Linked DNA regions of Homo sapiens: all the other regions are linked to region 1. The links are contacts of gene promoters, found by promoter capture Hi-C in blood cells and fetal thymus (Javierre and others, 2016). All regions are on one chromosome and are shown on one strand. The core of a region is centred on a gene start or on the middle of the fragment in contact, and the rest is flanking DNA. Distances in the headings are between cores, read along the strand shown. Region 1 holds the start of OR1J4 (olfactory receptor family 1 subfamily J member 4). Region 2 has its middle 13 kb from the start of OR1L6. Region 3 has its middle 6.2 kb from the start of OR1L4.

What was found. The method cuts DNA at HindIII sites, captures the fragments that hold promoters and counts their contacts. A CHiCAGO score of 5 or more calls a contact.
Region 2: a contact is called between a fragment that was not itself captured here and the fragment with the promoter of OR1J4 in region 1, in 8 of 17 cell types (endothelial precursors, M2 macrophages, megakaryocytes and 5 more). The highest score is 9.1, in endothelial precursors.
Region 3: a contact is called between a fragment that was not itself captured here and the fragment with the promoter of OR1J4 in region 1, in 1 of 17 cell types (endothelial precursors). The highest score is 5.7, in endothelial precursors.

The regions. Positions count from the first base shown.
Region 1 is chr9:122,516,742-122,520,826 of GRCh38, reverse strand. It overlaps OR1J4 (olfactory receptor family 1 subfamily J member 4), which reads right to left and starts at 1,686. Exons shown (of 1, transcript NM_001004452.1): 1 at 745-1,686. The coding sequence starts at 1,686. The coding sequence ends at 745. It also overlaps a transcript of OR1J2 not described here. The HindIII fragment of the contact is 966 bases long and covers 980-1,945 here.
Region 2 is chr9:122,753,636-122,757,720 of GRCh38, reverse strand. No RefSeq gene overlaps it. Among named protein-coding and RNA genes, the nearest start is that of OR1L6, 13 kb to the right of the region's middle. The HindIII fragment of the contact is 1,504 bases long and covers 1,660-3,163 here.
Region 3 is chr9:122,728,120-122,732,204 of GRCh38, reverse strand. No RefSeq gene overlaps it. Among named protein-coding and RNA genes, the nearest start is that of OR1L4, 6.2 kb to the right of the region's middle. The HindIII fragment of the contact is 2,195 bases long and covers 765-2,959 here.

The sequences.
Region 1 (4,085 bases), core at 437-2,936:
TAAGCTGAGTAGAAATGCTTTTCAATAAGAAAGACAACGAAGACACTGAATGGGAAAAGGATCAAATTTAGTGACGGCAACAGAAGGCTCCTGACTGTGAAGACTTTTTTGTTCTTCTCATTCATTACCTGGAGTAAGTCTGCGGCGTGATTGAAGCTCACATGTGTAGTCAGAAAGCTTCATAAACATTGGTCTGAAAGTGAACTGTTGAATGAAAGTTATTGTAGTCTAGAAGAGGAACCTCAAGTTCTGAAGTGGAACAGCTGAACTTATGACAGTGAATAGCTTTTTGGATCTGTAAAGGGTACTATATAGTTTCTTCTCCTTACCCACCACCATCAGCAACAACAATAAAAAATGTGAGAAGAGAACTGAATGGGAAGAAAGAAAGGGAAATGCCTTTACAAGTACCCAATCCTTCAACTTTTCTATGGCAAGGGAATCCTGTTAGTCAACATATTTAAACAATTCCTAAGAACAAATAAATTTCCAGGAAATAAAATGAAGGATTTAAGTTCTGTTAACTATGTAATTTCTGAATCTAATAGGCAAGATAAATAAACAATTATGTAAACTCAGAATTCACAATTTGCACTAAAGAGGAAAAGGGAGAATAACTGTAACAGGATGCAATTCAAGTCATCAGAGAGTTACTGAGCACTTATCCCTTGCTGGGATCAGAAGTAAGGATCTATGATCTGGAAATAGGTCAGTACATATGTCTGTTATAAAGAAGAGTAAATGTCATTGAGATAAGACTGTTGCCCTGTTGAAGAGTCTCTCCAGGGCTCCCTTTATGTCCCTGTTCCTTAGGCTATAAATGAAGGGATTCAGCAATGGGGTGATCACCGTGTACATCACAGAGGCAATTACGTCCTTGTCACTGGAGGCACTGGATGAGGGGAGAAAATACAGTCCAATAATTGTGCCATAATACAGAGACACCACAGAGAGGTGAGAGCCACAGGTGGACAAAGCTTTGAAGATGCCCTTAGTAGATGGAGCCTTGAGGATGGTGACCCCAATGTGGCCATAAGAGATCAAGATGCATATTAGTGGTAGAGTAATGACTGCCTGTCCCACTGTGAAAATGACCAGCTCATTGAGGGAGATGTCTGAGCATGAGAGCTTGAGTAGGGCAACAAGATCACAGAAGAAATGGGGGATGGTGTTGTCAGCACAAAAGGACAGCTGGGCCAGGAGGAGAGTGTGAGACAGGGCATTGGTACAGGAGAGGATCCAGGACACAGTGACTAGTAAGTTACACAGTCCCTCTTTCATGATAGTGGTGTAGCGGAGGGGGTGACAGATGGCCACATACCGATCGTATGCCATTGAAGTGAGAAGGAAATTGTCTAGATCAGTGAAAAATATGAAAAAATACATCTGAGTTACACACCCTGCATAAAGAATGGATTGATCCTGAGTTTGCATGCTTAATAACATCTTTGGGACAGTGACAGATGAAAGGGAGATGTCAGTGAGAGCCAAGTGGCTGAGGAAGAAGAACATGGGGGTGTGAAGGTGAGAGTCCAGCCGGATGAGCAGGATGATGAGCAGGTTCCCCAGCACCGTGATCAGGTACATGCCCAAGAACAGGGTGAAGAACACAGCCTGCTGCTCTGGCCAGATGGGGAGGTCCAGGAGGAGGAACTCAGACACACTGCTCTGATTCTCCCTCTTCATGCTGACAGTCTTCTCTCTGCTGGAAATAGAGGGACATTGAAAAAGGCAGAAACAAACAAATGTTGATTTACAGCAGCAGATAAGAATAAGATCCTTGCTACTGATGAATATGCCAATGTCTGTCTACATTGCTATGTCCCTACAAAAAATCATTTCAAGTAGATGGTTTTATCACTCAAAATGGGATAATTCGCCAAGAGAGTAGAGGGTTTGAAATAGAAGAGAAGACCAGCCATGTCTAGTCAGTAAAGAGAAAGCTTCACACCGTATTAGCAGATGGATCGTAAGATAACGTCTTTCCAATTTCCATTGTTTATGTACTTTTAAAAACAATCATCAGGCTAGTCATGAGCCTTCATGTTGTAACATATTGAACTTTTTAAAATTTGACTTCAAAATCTATTAGTAAGCAACATATAGGGATGAAGTTTCCATAACACATATCCAAAAGAAATTGGATCAAAGATAAACAGCCAAAGTTTTCATTATGTATAAAGTTGATGAGAAAAAAAACTTGTCTATTGATTACAATATCACTGCCATAAAAAAAGTAAATCTTACACAAAATATTTAAAGGTGAGAGCTTCAGGAGGTAATTAGGTCATGAGGGTAGAACCCCATGAATGGGATTATTGCCCTTATAAGAAGAAACACAAGAGTGTCTCTGGCATTGCCATGTGAGGACTCAGCAGGAAGGCAGCCATCTGCTAACCAGAAAGTGGACCCGCACCAGAAACCAAATCTGCTGGTACCTTGATCTGGGGCTTCCCAGGCTCCAGAACTGTAACAAATAAATGTCTGCTGTTTAAAGTCACCCAGCTATAGCAGCCCAACCGACTAAGACACTCAGTAAACTAAATAATACAGTAAACACCATACCTAGTGGAGACATTTTAAAGCATTTCCATTAAAATCAGGAATGAGAAAAATATGCCAGCTTCCTCCACAGCCACTATCTACCCATTAAAATATTCTAAAGCCATGGCATATATGTGCCACATTTTCTTTATCCAGTCTATCATTGATGGACATTTGAGTTGATTCCATGTCTTTGCTATTGGGAATAGTGCTGCAATGAACATACATAAAAAGGAATGAGACCATGTCCTATGCAGGGACATGGATGGAGCTGGAAGCCATTATCCTCAGCAAACTAATGCAGGAACAGAAAACCAAACAACACATGTTCTCACTTATAAGTGAGAGCTGAACAATGAGAACACAGGGAGGAGAACAATACACACTGGGACCTGTCTAGGGAGCTTGAGGGGGTGAGAGCATCAGGAAAAAGAGCTAACGAATGCCAGGCTTAATACCTAGGTGATGGGGTTGATAGGTGCAGCAAACCACCATGGCACACGTTTACCTGTGTAACGAACCTGCACATCCTGCACATGTACCCTGGAACATAAGAAAAAAAAAACACCTCAAAAAGATATTCTAAACCTAAGTTACCAAATCCTGCAAGGCCAGTAGGAATGAGTTTATAGTGCCACTGTGTCTTAATTGAAAAGTTCCCTTTAAGTCAAAAAGCAATGCCAAATGCCTAATATATATACCAACGTATACTAAGTAAATAGAAAATGTGAGGATTTCATTATAACAGTTCTTAATTGGGAGAAAAATTCAGAAGAGCTTTGTACAGGTTAAGGATAGGCTTAAAATTCTTTGCTTCTTTAAGCTGGTGAGTTGAGCATACTCCTATTTCATATGAGAATACCATCCTTCCTTTGAAACTTACCAAAAGGCAGCCAACATAACAGAGTTCCGAATGGACCCATAGAGAAAAGGGGCAAGAATGCCTGGCCCAGGTTCCCCGGCTGCACCTGCTCACTCCAGCATTTTAAGGCTCCCTGGGGCTGTGACCTTAAGGATAGAGCCTAGTGTCTGAGGGTAGTATGTTGTACTGACAAAAGCATTGCAATTAGCCCTAGATTCAAGTCCTGGCAACATCACTTCATATCTTCATATTTGTGAGTTCTGGAGAAGTGATCCAGTTGGCCTGAGCTTCAGTTTTCTCATCTCTAATCTGGAGATGAGACTATGAGCCTAAGTCATGAGAATATTGTGAATATTAATAAGAAAACATTTGTGAAGAATGACTGCATACAATCTGAACCAATTTATATCAGTTTCTCACCTGCCATTTCCTGAGTCTCCTTTATTTCTCCCTCCTGATTGCCCACTCCTTTCAACAGGCAGATACTGGCAGAGTTCAGGTGCCACAAGGCCACTTCATCATGAGATCGTGACCTGATGCAGGCAAAGGCCAGAAACAGCAATAATGAAGTTGGGCAGAAAGGCAGCATCCAACCACACCCTAGAGAATGATGGCTCAGATATCTCACTATTCTGGACTTCTCCCCCTCCTTCTCCATTCTCTTCTGGTTTCTCTCATG
Region 2 (4,085 bases), core at 1,162-3,661, 240 kb before region 1:
GGAACTGACATTTTATCATCCCAGCTTCCATAATTCTCAGCAACTGTTTATCTACCTTTCATCCAGGATGCATTTTTCCCATGTGAAACTTGCATAGATTACTTGTTCAGGGGAACCAAAGGTTAAATGCTTCCAGTTTGTGGAAGAATGCAGAGTCACTGATACCTGGATGGAGACTTGGGGGAGTGTTCCTTTGTTCGTTTTGAGAGTTTCTTCTTGATCTCTGTGCAAAAATTATTTCTTCCAGGCTTCCACATTTCTCCCTGCTTCTCTTTACCTCCTTGGCTCCTTCACTTGTTCTTCTCCCACCTCCCTATATAAAACTTGGTCTCAGACATTCATTCCTACCATGTATGATTTATAACTTGGCAAGTGACTCCTCTTCCTAGGTTGCATATTTTAAAGGTTACTGATGACTTCAGTGAATTCTCTAATATTAGAATTTTAGTTAGAGATTTTTGGAAGCATGGGGGACTTCCAGGACCTTATAGAATAAGGATGAGTTTACAATCAGTTTTTTACCCACTGAGAAAAGATGATAGTAGAGGCTGGGCACAGTGGCTCAAGCCTATAATCCTAGCACTTTGGGAGACTGAGGCGGGTGGATCACCTGAGGTTGGGAGTTCGAGACCAGCCTGACCAACATGGAGAAACCCTGTCTCTACTAAAAATACAAAATTAGCTGGGCAAGATGGCGACTGCCTGTAATCCTAGCTACTCAGGGAGCTGAGGCAGGACAATCGCTTGAACCTGGGAGGCAGAGGTTGCAGTGAGCTGAGATTGCACCATTGCACTCCCAGCCTGGGCAGCAAGAGTGAAACTCCATCTCAAAAAAAAAAAAAAAAAAGAAAAGATGGGAGACGTATTGCTAATATGATGTGTGATTTATTAAACACTTTATTATAACCATTTCAAATAAAAGTATAGAAAATAGTATAGTGTAATTGAACCCCATGACACATCACCTAGCATAGTAATTTAAAAAATTATTTCAATCTTGTTTGATCTATATGCCTCCTTCCATTTATTTGCTGGTGACTCTTTTAAAGCAAATTGCAGATATCGCATAAATTCATTGACCTACTTCAGGATGCATCTTTCAGAAATGAGAATTTAAAAATAAAAATATCATTATCCCTGAAAATAGTGGCATTAACTCATTGATATCATCTAATGCCTAAACCATATTCAATTTTTCTTGTCTTAAAAATTACTCTTTTCAGTTGATCTTTTCAAATCAGACTCCAAGTAATGTCCACATGTTACGTTTTTGTCATTGTGTTTTTTAATATATACCAGCCTCCTACCTTTTTGGTTATTATTTATTGGTACCCTATTATTAGTAATATTAAAATTAGCTGGTAATTCTCTACCTCTTCTCTGCCTCTCTCAAAATACCTGACTTAATACTTCTTAATTCCAAGTTAATAATTAATAGGCAATAAGTAAGCTTATTTTATTTTTTATATCCTCCTCTCATTATTCCCACATTTTGTTTATTGTTGTATGTAACTATATAGTCAGAGCATTTATCCATGAACAGTATTCTCTTACCTTGTAACCATCATTTAATGTTAGTTCTACAGTTAAATATATGCTTACTGTTTATCAACAGTTCTTAAGTTGATGTCTCTCCAGTCATTTTGGTTGTCTAAAGCTTGTTCTATGGTAAGTTCCTTAAGAGTTCTTGAATAGTGAAAGTGGCCCTTATATTTGAAAGTAATTTTAGTTGGATATGAAATCTTGACTCATCTATTCTTTTCTTGAGGATCTTAATATATTATTCTGTTGTTTGCTGTTGTTCTCATAATGTGTTTAAAGATAGGCCCTGTACTTTCTAAGATATCTGGCTTTGTTCCTCTTATTCATTTATGTCTCTAACTTTCCTTTTATTCCTAGATTTTTTTTTTTTATCTTGGTAAACCTTGGCTCTATTTTCTGATTTTATCCTTGGTGTGGGATTTGTACTGGAAGAGATTATTGGATGAGTAGCTTTGTGAGGTAATAAGGCCTAGACTGCTCCAGCATCACCAGGGCTTACTAAGGCCCCATTGAAATGACAGTAGAATGGACAAAACCCTTTCAGTCTCAGCTTCTGTTCTCAAATTGGCTCAGCACAAATTCCTGTGAGAAGTTACCAATTAATTTTTTTTCCCATTTTCAGCTCAGGCAGATAGTGTTGGTTGCCTCTGTTTCTTCTTGCTCAGATCTGACACCATGTGGGTCATATAGCTTTTGGTCTTTTGTTGCTACCTGCTTGTATTTTGGGCATTATAGGGATGTTTTGTGTCTTAAGAATTGTTATTCTTGTACTATTCTAGTTGTTTTACCTTTCTTTTATCAGACTATTCAGCGGGATTCAAACTTAAGCCACTACCAGAAGTCTAACAATCAAAAAATTCATAGATTGTTTGAGGATCTACTAATTGCAGAGAGGAGAGAAGGACTGGGGCAAAAAGACATTTAAAAAATATTGGGCTAAAAGTTATCAAATGTGAAGAAAAAAATCTATCCATAGATTTAAAAGCCTTAATAAACCCCAAGTAGGATAAACACAAAGAAATCCATATGTAATCAAATTGCTAAAAACCAAAAAATAAAACCAGTCAGAGCAAAAAGACGTATCACCTATAGGAGGACTAAAGATAAGACTTACAACTGATTTCTCTTTGAAAATAATGCAAGTCATAAGACCATGGAACAACATTGACACAGATTATAATCATTCTCTCCATTCTCACCTTCACTCATTCCTTAACACATCACAATCTGGCTCGTTTTCCATTTCTCCATTGCACATTCACCAAAGTTATGAATCACCACCATGTCACTAAAGCCAATGGACAACCTTCAGCCTTATTTTGTTAAACTGTCATCATATTTTGATACCAGTTAATGGCTCCTGCCTCTTCAAATTTACTCTTCTCTTGAATTCTATGACTACTCCTTTTAATTCCTCTTTGATAATGTTTTCTCTATTAGATTCTTCAATGCCAGAAATACTCTGCCCTCTTCCCTACTTTTTTCTTGGGTCTCATGCTACACACTCTTCCTAATTGTCATCACTTACTCTGATAAACAGGTAAAATATGTTCAGTGAACTGAATTCCCCTTATTTCAGTATTGAGCTAAATCTCAAATATTTGTATATATGTAATAAGCTTACATTGGAAAAACCCAATACATTTTTTTAAACTTTTTGTGTTTTGTCAACAAATGAGAGACCTATGGTATTATTTCTCTATTGTATTCAGCCAGCCTTCTGGATACCAATATGGTGAAACAAGGAGCTGGCAAGGAGATTCCTTGTCTACTCTCAAGGACTATGTAGCAGCATTTGAGACAATGTGACAAGATGTCCAGAGGCCTGTTGAAATCCCTCCCTGTGATTATATCTACCTTCATAATCTATTTATTTCCTCTTACTCATGCTTATTAGTGACTTTCTAGGTTGACTTCTGGACTCTCTTGATTGGACAGCAAAAATCTTACTACACTTTGTAGATACTCCTTGCTCATGGCAGTTCTTTCCTTCTGAAGAGTGACAGGATGTCTTGTGGGAAGTAGCTTCATATTTTGACAGAGAAAACACTCCAGCTCTGACTGAGAAGTTTAGGACTTACCTGAGGGTCAGAGTAGGAACTCTTTCATCCCAAAGTGCACTCTCGTGGTTAATTGTTATCTAGAATTTCCTTTTCTTTACACTTTTGGTAATATCTCTAGGATTATTCATAAAACATCTTTTATGATTTTTTTTTGCCATGCATTTGTTGAGAAAAAGAAGTCTGGGGCTGATGGCAATGTGAGATCAGAAATATCCATCTGACAAAGGTCAAATATCCAGAATCTACAAGGAACTTAAAAAATTTACAAGAAAAAAATAAACAACCCCATTAAAAAGTGGGCAAAAGACATAAACAGACACTTCTCAAAAGAAGACATTTACGCGGCCAACAAACATGAAAGAAAGCTCAACATCACGGTCATTAGAGAAATGCAAATCATAACCACCATGAGATACCATCTCATGACAGTCAGAATGGTGATTATTAAAAAGTCAAGAAACAACAGATGCTGGTGAGACT
Region 3 (4,085 bases), core at 613-3,112, 210 kb before region 1:
TCTGTAGATGTCTATTAGGTCCATTTGATCCAGTGCTGAGTTCAAGTCCTGAATATCTTTGTTAATTTTCTGCTTTGATGATCTATCTAGTACTGTCAGTCGGTTGTTGAAATCTTCTGCTATTATTGTGTGGGAGTCTAAGTCTCTTGGAAAGTCTCTAAGAACTTACTTAATGAATCTGGGTGATCCTGTGTTGGGTGCATATATATTTAGGACAGTTAGGTCTTCTTGTTGAATTGAACCCTTTACCATTATATAATGCCCTTTTTGTCTTTTTAAAATCTTTGTTGGTTTAAGTCTGATTCATCCATAATTAGGATTGTAGCCTCTGCTTTTGTCTGTTTTCCATTTGCTTGGTATATTTTTCTCCATCCCTTTATTTCGAGCCTATGAGTGTGATTGTGTGTGAGCTGGGTCTCTTGAAGACAGCATACCATAGGGTCTTGGCTCTTTATTGAATTTGCCATTCTGTGCTTTTTAATTGGGGCATTTAGCCCATTGACATTCAAGGTTAGTATTGATATGTGTGGATTTGATCCTGTCATCATGATGTTAGCTGGTTGTTATGCTGATTTGTTTGTGTGTTTGATTTATAGTGTCACTGGTCTGTGTACTTTAGTGTGTTTTTGCAGTGTGTCTGGTAACAGTCTTTCCATATTTAGTGCTTCCTTCAGAAGCTCTTGTAAGGAAGGTCGGGTGGTAATAAATTCCCTCAGCATTTGCTTTTCTGAAAAGGATCTTATTTCTCCTTTGCTTATGAAGCTTAGTTTGGCTGGATATTAAATTCTTGGTTGGAATTTCTTTTCTTTAAGAATTTTGAATATTGCCCCCAATCTCTTCTGGTTTATAGGGTTTCTGCTGAGCATTCTTCTGTTAGTCTGATGGGCTTCCCTTTGTTGGTGACCTGACCTTTTTTTCTTGCTACCTTTAACATTTTTTCTTTCATTTCAACCTTGGAGAATCTGATGATTACGTGTCTTCGGGATGATCTTCTTGTAAAGCATCTTCCTGAGGTTGTCTGCATTTCCTGAATTTGAATGTTGGCCTCTCTAACTATGTTTGAGAAGTTCTCATGGATTATATCCTGAAAAATGTTTTCTGAGTTGCTTCCATTCTCCCCATCTCTTTCAAGGAAACCAATAGGCAGTAGATTTGGTCTCTTTACATAATCCCATATTTCTCAGAGGTTTTGTTCATTTATTTTCATTCTCTTTTCTCTATTCTTGCCTGTCTTAGAAAGCTAGACTTCAAGTTCTGATATTCTTTCCTCTGCTTGGTCTATTCTGCTATTAATACTTGTGACTGCATTATAAAATTCTTGTAGTGTGTTTTTCAGCTCTGTCAGGTTGGTTATATTCTTTTCTATACTGACTATTTTGTCTGTCAGCTCCTGTATCATTTTATTGTGATTCTTAGTTTACCTGGATTGAGTTTCAATACACTCCTCCATCTCAATGATCTTCATTTCTATCCATATTCTGAATTCTATTTCTGTCATTTCAGCCATCTTAGTCTGGTTCAGAACCCTCGATGGAGAGCTAGCATGGTTGTTTGGAGGGAAGAAGGCACCCTGGCTTTTCAAGTTGTCAGAATTCTTGTGCTGGTTCTTTCTCATCTTTGTGGGCTGATGCTCCTTCAATCTTTGAAGCTGCTTTCCTTTGAATGGTTTTTTTTTTCTTTTACCTTATTTAATGACCCTGAGGGTTTGATGGTGGTATAAGGTGGCTTCAGTTGACTGGCTTTGTTTCTAGAAGATATTAGGGGACCAAGGCTCAACTCCCCACTCCTGGACTGCATGCTCTAAATCTGGGGGACTGGTATTGGACCCTGACTTTGTTCTTGGTTCCTTGAGGTTAGGAACCCAGTGCACTAAGGCTGAGATGCTCCTGTACCACTGGTCACTACACCTCTATGGATGGTGCCAGCCAAAGCATTTCATGGGTGGTGGCAGTGGGATCCATCCTTGTTCGCATGTGCCAGCAGCAGCAGCAGCAGTGTCATATGGCAGGGTGCGTGATCATTGTCTGTGGCAGAGTACTTGCAGGTTCTGGGATGCTGGCCGCCCAGGCCTAGATTGCTCTGACATCATTAGACATTCACTATTGTTGAATGGGCAAAACCCTTTTAAGCCTTAACTTCTGTTCCTAAATTGGCCCACAACAAATTTTGGTGAGTACTTGCTAATTAATACTTGGGTTTTTCCTATTCTCAGCTCAGGTAGATACTGTTGGTTGCCTCTGTTTCCTCCTGCGCAGATTCTAAAAACATATGGATCATGTAACTGTTGGTTATTTGTCTCTAGCTTCCTGTATTTGGGGATTTATGGGAATTCTTTGTGTCTTCAAGTTGTTCTTGTTTTAGTGTTCTAGTTGTCCCATTTTCATGAGGCTACTTAGAGGGATTAAAAAATCTAAGCTGCCCTCCAAGGTCTAACAATCATATAATTAGAGCCCCACAAAGAGAGGAGAGAGTTTGGGGCAAAATGATATTTGAATAAACATTGGACTAAATTTTTCCAAATGTGAAGAAAAATATCTTTCCAAGATCCAAGAAGCTCAATAAACCCCAAGCCAGATAAACATAAATAATTCCATATACAGCTGAGCTATAGTCAAATTGTTAAAAACCAAAAATAAAATCAGCCAGGACAAAAAAACAATTTACCTAAGAGGGAAACAAAGATAAAAATGATAGCTGATTTCTCTTTAGAAGCAATGCAAGCCACAAAACAATAGAACAACATTGACACAAATTATAATCACTGTCTCCAGATTCTCACCTCCATTTATTCCTTAACATATTCCAATCTGGCTCCTTTTCCATTTCTCCATTGCCAATTCACCAAGGGCATCAATGACCACCATATCATTAAAGCCAATGAACAATCTTCAGGCTTACTTTGCTTATTAAACTTTCATCATATTTGGTCACTTATTAATAGCCCCTGCCTCTTGAAGCTTCCTCTTTTCTTGGATTCTGTGACTATTCCTATTAAGTCCCCCTCAATAATATATTCTCTATCAAACTTTTCAATGCCAGAAATACTTTTTATTCTTCTCTCACATTCTCCTCAGAACTCATGCTACACAGTGTTCCTAGTTGATATCATTTGCTCTAATAGACAGGCAACATATGTTCAATGAGCTGGATTTTTTTTTTAGTTCAGTATTGAGCAAAATCTCTAATATTTATGTTTTTGAAATGAACTTGCACTAAAAGGACTCAATACATTTATAATTCTTTTAACAAAGGACAGGCTTATAGTATTATTATTCTATTGTATTCTAGCATTCCACCTGATGTGGCAAGATGCTCAGAGGTCTGCGTAGACCCTTCTTCTGATTATATCTACCTTCAAGAAAGATTTTTTTTTCCTCTTACTGATGCTTATTAGCACATTTCTGAGTTAACATCTGGGCTCTCATGTTTGAAAAGAAAAAATCTTATTAAAGTCTTCAGATGCTTCTTACCCACTGACAGTCCCTTATTGTGACTTGGGGAAACTGGCATCATATCCTGACAGAGAATCCTCCAATTCCAACTGAGAAGTTTAGGATTTACCAAAGGGGTAGACTGGAAACTTTTTTTATCCCAAAGTGCTATCTCATGGTCACTTGTTATTTAGAATTTCTTTTAGTTTGAATTTCTGGGAATATCTTAAAGTTTTTCATTAAAAAAAATCGTGATTTTTTTTAGTGGCCATGCACTTGTTGAGGAAAAAAAGTCAGGCCGATCTCAGAACTGAAAAATAAAAGTTATGATTCTTGGGGTCAAAGGGCTTAATTAGCTTTAAAAATTATTGTAGGCTGTAATTAGTGAATTTATTTATTAATATATGCCAGGAATTCTCACATTCTAAAGTTGCTATGGCACTTAGTTGAGTATGAGAAAACTATGACATATAAATAAAGGAAATAGAAAGTAAATATGTCTTCTAGGCCAGCATCTCAAAATCAAGTGATTGGTGGGAGATAGTGGTAAAAGTCAGGTGTGCTTAAACGAATACAGAGGCTACTGCAAATTAGCTTTTCTGGCTTGCTGGTTACTTCCTTATAATTAGGAGGATTTAGTGAAAAGGGTGACAG